2 separate regions of the Homo sapiens genome follow, and region 2 is linked to region 1. Evidence: promoter capture Hi-C in 16 types of primary human blood cells and fetal thymus (Javierre and others, 2016). All regions are on one chromosome and are shown on one strand. The core of a region is centred on a gene start or on the middle of the fragment in contact, and the rest is flanking DNA. Distances in the headings are between cores, read along the strand shown.

What was found. The method cuts DNA at HindIII sites, captures the fragments that hold promoters and counts their contacts. A CHiCAGO score of 5 or more calls a contact.
Region 2: a contact is called between a fragment that was not itself captured here and the fragment with the promoter of VPS18 in region 1, in 1 of 17 cell types (naive CD4 T cells). The highest score is 5.5, in naive CD4 T cells.

The regions. Positions count from the first base shown.
Region 1 is chr15:40,892,712-40,896,027 of GRCh38, forward strand. VPS18 (VPS18 core subunit of CORVET and HOPS complexes) reads left to right here and starts at 1,739. Exons shown (of 5, transcript NM_020857.3): 1 at 1,739-2,148; 2 at 3,227-3,316. The coding sequence starts at 2,058. RefSeq lists a silencer at 1,455-1,624 and an enhancer at 2,465-2,554. The HindIII fragment of the contact is 16,460 bases long and covers 1-3,316 here.
Region 2 is chr15:41,810,469-41,814,099 of GRCh38, forward strand. It overlaps MAPKBP1 (mitogen-activated protein kinase binding protein 1), which reads left to right. Exons shown (of 31, transcript NM_014994.3): 4 at 415-477; 5 at 710-767; 6 at 1,489-1,659; 7 at 2,048-2,185; 8 at 2,451-2,633; 9 at 3,153-3,313. Among named protein-coding and RNA genes, the nearest start is that of JMJD7, 16 kb to the right of the region's middle. The HindIII fragment of the contact is 1,838 bases long and covers 917-2,754 here.

The DNA of each region.
Region 1 (3,316 bases), core at 489-2,988:
GGGTCCACCCAGGCCTATCCCATACATCCCGGAGAGCCATGGAGCCCAACAATGGGGTGCTGGGGTCCCTGAGGCTGTAGCTGGAAGTACTCTGTGTCCCTAAGGCAGCACTCCTATGCTGACCTCCAACTGCTAATGGGCTCTGTGCAGCAGGGACAACCCTCTGCACAGTCCAGACCTGAGGGCAGATGGCAGGTGACCTGGGGGTGAAGTGTTATGTATGGAGCAGGGCAGCTCCCTGTCTGGGATCACTTTTCTTAGAGGAAGCCTCCTGCCTATTGTCCTGCTCCTGCACTTCCCTCCTGGGACCTGGCAACCTCAGGTGGGAAGGCTGCATTGAGGCTGCAGGCTTGGTCAAGAGAAGCAGGACCCTGGTGCGAAGGGAAATGAGCCTGGACAGCATACTTGTCACCTGCCCCAGGACTAGTGCCCCTCCAAGCCAGAGAGCCCAGATAGCCCTCAGTGGGGCTGGTGAGAGTCACAGTTCTCCGCACGTGGCCAGGAAGTTGAGCAAGAGTAACCCAACCACATAAGGTATGGTGCAAACCTGGAAACTTCTGAGAGCAAAGGGATGCTCTTAGTTGTTAGGCGGGGGCCGCCCAGCAGAGCCAGGACGGTGGCGACCCTAGTCCAGAGCCTTCCACTTTAGCAAGGTAGAATCCAAGGGCCCCAGAAGGGAACAGACTCCATCTGGGTCGCCTAAGCAGGTGAGAGAGGAAAACCCAACCACAGTCGCGCCCCAGCCCTCGCAGGTCCCTGGCTGAGGACTCCCCTCTCCACCTCAGGCTGGGCGGCCCCCGCCTTCACGCTTGCTCCCACTTGTCCCTCGTTCTTGCTAGGCTTGGCAGGTATTTGTTCCCTGCTCCTTCACGCTCTCAGTGCCGTGGCCACGTCGCTGGGTACGCCCCACCAGGCAAGAGACATTTTCCGTCTTGTTCTCTGCCACGTCCCCAGAGCCTGGAACAGTGCTTGGCACAGAGTGGACGCTCATTCGTGGAGTAAGTGCCTGATGGATAATCCATCACTTGCTTTTCTAGTATGAATGGTCTATTTACGGGTCCAGCGCCCCTGCTGGCTTACGACCTTTTCCAGGGCGGGGAGGGGCTGTCCTCATCTCTGTGACCCCAGCGCCCAGCCCAAGGCCTGGCACAGAGTAAGTGCTCAACCACATTTTGGTGAATGAGTGAATGGAAGCGGCCCAGCAACCCTGAGCCAAGGAGCCACTGTGGGGCAGGTCAGGGCGGTTCCTGGCACAGGGCTTCCCACTAGCCTGGCCACCAGCTCTGCGGTCTCCTGGAAGCTGGGGGGCCTTTGGGTAAGGGAGAAGAGTGGCCAGGAGTTGTCTGCGTGTGCCCTGTGACGGTGGGATAGAGACAGCGATTGGATTGAGGAACGGGAGGTTCCCCGAGGCTGTTTAGAGAGGCGGGAGCGGGAGCTGGTCAGGGAGGCTGGACAGACCACCCGAGGGAGCGGAGCTTGGGCACGAAAGCCAAAACTGGGCGGCGCGGGGCGGGTGGGGAAGGCCGGCTGAGAAAGCCGGGATTGCCTCCTGGTGTCAAAGCTCGGAACTGCAGCAGGATCCTGGGGGCGGGGCTTGTGTTCAGCAGCACTCGCCACGCGCCCAGCCCTCAGCCCTCGTCTCGCCTTCTGCTGGCTGGCCCGGCGACGTTGTGCGCCAGCGTACGCGGGGCTCTGAGAACCCGGAAGTTACGTTTTAGGCCCGCGTCACGGGGGCGGGAGTCAGCTGAGCTGCCGGGGCGAGGTTGGGATCACCTGGCACCGGCTGAAGGGAGCCTGTGATTTTTTTGTAGCGGGGGCGGGGAGTAAGGTGCAAGACTGCGCCAGATTCAAGGACGAGGGCTGCCCGATTATCTCGCTGCATAAGGCAAGAGCAAGAGGATCCTCAGGATTTTAAAGAGGAGGCGACGGCTGCAGGTTCCCAGGATCTGTCAGAGGCTGGGGAGTTACAGCTTCCATTCTGGGGCGACGGGGACCCCGGGGGGGTAGCCCTTTTGTAATCCCCAGGCCCCGGACAAAGAGCCCAGAGGCCGGGCACCATGGCGTCCATCCTGGATGAGTACGAGAACTCGCTGTCCCGCTCGGCCGTCTTGCAGCCCGGCTGCCCTAGCGTGGGCATCCCCCACTCGGGTAAGGAAGAGGAGGGTGCCGCTGCCCCTTTCGGCTCTCCTAGCATTTGCGTGGGAGCAGCGAGGAGGGCAGCTCCAAGAGCTCGGGGTCATCCCCTGGGCCGTGCCTTCCGGGTCTAGGCCCCTGATTCTCCTCAGGCTCTCTTGGCCCCCAGCTGGTGGATAGTCGAAGTTTGAAAGAGCAACGGGAGCTGCCGCGTGATCTAGGCTCTACCGCTAGGGTCCTTTTGAGAGGGAATTGGGGCCCAGATAAGGAATTACTCACCTACAGGGCGCAGTTGGGCTGTTGGGAGAACTTAGAATGGGCTCCCGGCTTCTGCTGATGCTTTTCCCACCAGGCCCCTTCTGGAGGTGGGAGGGAAGGAATGGACAAAGAAAGTGGTGAAGGCGGAGTATTGCAGAGGAAGAAGGGAGGGTCCCAGAGGGAATTTTGTCGCTGAACGGGGAAAATGGAGATGAAATCTTTTTGGCCTTGGCTATAGCTGGGTGCAGCCTGGAGTTTGGGGACGTTTTTGTAGAAAGTAGTGAGTCTCCAGGAGAATGAGGGCATAGGGAGCCCTGGGGAACTGTTCCAGTGAGTGGAGTTAACGAATTGGAGCTGCTTTCACTCTAGTCTTTACCTTCATTCAATGCTCAAAATATCCCAGCACTTGCCAACTCTACACTGAGGCTCATTACCGCATGGGCAGGGAGGGGGGCAGAGAATGGGGCTATACTACTTCAGTTAAGCTGGGATTGCTGGGCCAAAGACCTGATAAGGGAGAATACCCAGACCACCAGTCCCGTCCCACCTCCACGCAGCCCCATTACCAGTGGGAGCAGGTATATCATGCTGTGACAGCATCTTAAGGGTTCAAAGAATCAACCCCTCACTGCTGTCAGAGTGTGGAAAGAGCTCCAGACCTCTATTGTAAAGGTGACCAGCAAACGACTTGATATCAAACTATTTGTTAACCAAGGTCCTGGGGATAGGAATATGTCAGGAAAGTGGCGAGGAGCACTGTGGTGTTTTTTCTGCCTCTCCTTGCCCTTCACCTGTCTCTTCCACAGCTAATCTTCTTGTCATTCCTTACCTGTAGGGTATGTGAATGCCCAGCTGGAGAAGGAAGTGCCCATCTTCACAAAGCAGCGCATTGACTTCACCCCTTCCGAGCGCATTACCAGTCTTG
Region 2 (3,631 bases), core at 586-3,085, 920 kb after region 1:
CACTTTGGGAGGCAGATCACTTGAGTTCAAGAGTTTGGGACCAGCCTGGGCAACGTGGCAAGATCCCGTGTCTACAAAAAAAAAAAAAAAAAAATACAAAGATTAGCTTGCATGGTGGCACATGCCTGTGGTTCCAGCTACTAGGGAGGCTAAGGTGGGAGGATTGCTTGAACCTGCAAGTTGAGGCTGCACTGAGCCATGTTTGCACCACTGCACTCTGGCTGGGATGACAGAGTAAGATCCTGTCTCAAAAAAAAAAAAAAAAAAAAAAGAAAAGGAAAAAAACAGTGGAGCCCTTCTGAGCTCTTTCTACCCAGCTCCCTCTGCCGGGTGACTGGAAGTCCTGGGTGGCCTGGAGGGCTCCTGGGGGAGCTGTGGTTTGCTGCTGAGCCTGTTGTCTGCTCATCTCCTCAGGTGTGTGGTTGTGTTGTTCAATCCCCGGAAACACAAACAGCACCACATCCTCAACAGTTCCAGGTAAATGGGCTGGGGTCCTCAGGATACCTCTTCCTTCTGGGAGCTATGAGAAGGGCACTGTCTAGAGTCTCTATGGCTCTGGGGGCTGGGACCTGGTTGGGTCCTAAAGCCAGATGGGGAAGTGCCACATGTGCCATTGGTGTCTGCTGGTCTCACCTTTTGAGAGGCTGGGAGGGGGCTAGGCTTAGGCCAGGCTGCCAGTGCCCCTCTGAGCCTGCCCCATCTCTTGCAGGAAAACCATCACTGCCCTTGCCTTCTCCCCTGATGGCAAGTACTTGGTCACTGGAGAGGTGAGTGAGGAAGAGGGCTGGCAGTACTGTAAAGAGGGCAGGTGTCCTGGCCTCCGCAGAGAGCTGCGGTCCTAGGCCTGCTGTCACTTTGGCTTCTGAAACAGACACCAAATCCTGGTTTTCGCTATACCTTAAAATAGTGGTTCTCAAGCTTTAGTGTACATCAGAATCACTTGGAGGGCTTGTGAAAGCACACATCACTAGCCTGGTCCTCAGAGTTTCTGATTCTGTAGGTCTGGGATGGGAGTCTGAAATGTGCATTTGTAACAAGTTCCCAGAGAGTGCTGATCCTGCTGGTGAAGGAAGCGTGCTTTGGAAACCACTGCCTTAACTATTCCTTACCCCCGGGGGCCCCCTGCTGGGCTCAGGAGGAACGCTTCTGTCCTGGCGGCGTAGTCTTACTAGGGGCAGAAATAGACCTGAGTGGTAGTGGCTCTCAATGCCGGCTGCCCATCAGAACCATTCAGGGAGCTTTGAACAACCTGAAGTACAGACGGCCACCCAGAGATGCTGACTAAAATCCGGGGCCACTTTCTTCCTGGTAATCACTGTTGCCCTCAGATCTTTATCATATTTCCTCTATACCCTGCCCTGACTTTTGGCTGGGGAAGTGATGGTATCTAGTAGCTGAGGAGGCGAGGGCCCCGCTCTGGAAGACGAAGTGGGGCTGTATGCCTGTGGAGAAGTCAAGAACTCACTTCCAGTTCTTGCCTCCCTGCAGAGTGGGCACATGCCTGCCGTGCGGGTTTGGGACGTGGCAGAGCACAGCCAGGTGGCCGAGCTGCAGGAGCACAAGTATGGTGTGGCTTGTGTGGCCTTCTCTCCTAGCGCCAAGTACATTGTCTCTGTGGGCTACCAGCATGACATGATCGTCAACGTGTGGGCCTGGAAGGTGAGTGGCTGGGTGGGGTGGCCTGGCAGCCTCACAGGGGTCAAGTGTCAGCTGGGGAGGCAAGAGACTGCTGACCTGCACTGCTCCATTCCACCCCACTGAACCATTCTCATTCTAGAAAGTTATTTGAAGCAGAAAAGAGCAACTGTGTGGCCAAGCATGTTGGTTGAAGGGGCTAGCTTTATGCCTTCAAAGACTTCTGCAGGAAACGAATCTTTTCAGCTCCTCTAGAAAGGGATTATTTCCCTACCCCTCTTTTTCTGGCCAGTAAATTCTGGAAAGAAACACTTTGTCAAGTACAAATTCTAATTCTCCTCCATTCTCTGAGTCACTGTCTTCTTAGCTCCAAGAGACAGAGCCTTGATTCTTCCTTTGGCATCCCCTCCAGAAAAACATTGTGGTGGCCTCCAACAAGGTGTCCAGTCGGGTGACAGCAGTGTCCTTCTCTGAGGATTGCAGCTACTTTGTCACTGCAGGCAACCGACACATCAAATTCTGGTATCTCGATGACAGCAAGACCTCAAAGGTGAGGTGCTGAAGCTGGGAGTAGCCACCAAGGCCCCTGGCAGGGCCTGCCCAGCCCAACCCAGGAGACTCTGCCCCACTTGGGCCTCTCTCTGCATTCCCAGCAGTCATGCAGAAGTTTTGGATGAGCCAGATGCTGTCTGGGCTGAGGAGTAGGCCCAAAGAGCAAGGAGGTGCTGGAGGCGTCCCCTGTACTCTCCTAGGGCCCAGTTTCCAGGGGCAGGCTCTGGGGTGGATGGGGGTGTAACAGTGGTGTGCCTCCACAGGTGAATGCCACTGTGCCCTTGCTGGGCCGCTCAGGGCTGCTGGGAGAGCTACGGAACAACCTATTCACTGATGTGGCCTGTGGCAGAGGAAAAAAGGCGGACAGTACCTTCTGCATCACGTCCTCAGGGCTGCTGTGCGAGTTCAGTGATCGAAGGCTTTTGGACAAGTGGGTGGAGCTGAGGGTAAGTACCTCCGTCCCCAGGGGTAGGGTCTGCTCATGTCTCAGCTCAGGGGAGAACTAGTGCCCAGGGCTTCAGACTAGGGGCTGGTCCCTTGTGCATACGGGAGATCCCAGGAGAACGAAGCTTGGGGGAGCTAGAGCTTGGCCCATTTCCAGCCCTTGGTGATCTGTATAACTGCCTCCTCTCTGCTCTTTCTGTCTCTTTCCCCTGCTTTCCTCTTCCGCTCAGAACATAGACAGCTTCACAGTAAGTGGTGCCTGCACCTTCCTCTCTTTCTCATGCTATTTCTTTCTCTTCACTGGGCTTTTCCTACTGGATCCTCTGGTGCCTAGAAGAATCCTCGGTTCCTAATCCCTGGCTGGACAGGGCTGAGGGGCTCAGAACAGGGCAGCTGGGCGGCTTTTCCCTTGCCCCTGCCTTGGCCGGTCCCTCCTCTTGGCAGGTGGCTGTTGATGGGTGGGGAGGAGAGAAGACTGAGTGGGCAGGTGGCCTTGCTGAGCTGAGCCACTCTGCCCACAGACCACAGTGGCCCACTGCATCTCTGTGAGCCAAGACTACATCTTCTGTGGCTGTGCTGATGGCACCGTGCGCCTTTTCAACCCCTCTAACCTGCACTTCCTTAGCACCTTGCCCCGACCCCATGCTCTGGGGACAGACATTGCTAGCGTCACCGAGGCCAGGTGAGCTATGTGGGCCCCCCTTCCTCCATTTGTAGCCTTACCCCTGCCCAGTCTTTCTTGTCAGTGCCTCAGGGAGCAGGTGAAGAGTGTATTGATGCCCCAAAGATTATTGGGAACACCTCTTTAGACAGAAGAATTTGGGTTTATTGGTACTTGTTGCAACCAAGGAGACCCCACCCCATGGAGAACTGTGGAGAGTCTCAGTAAGTGGGTGTTAGGAGGGACATATGGGATTTGGGTTTGCGTTGGGTGATTTTAGGAATCGTTCAAGGGATTGAAGTATTCTGGTTGGATGCTGTCCGGAACTAGGGGCAATTC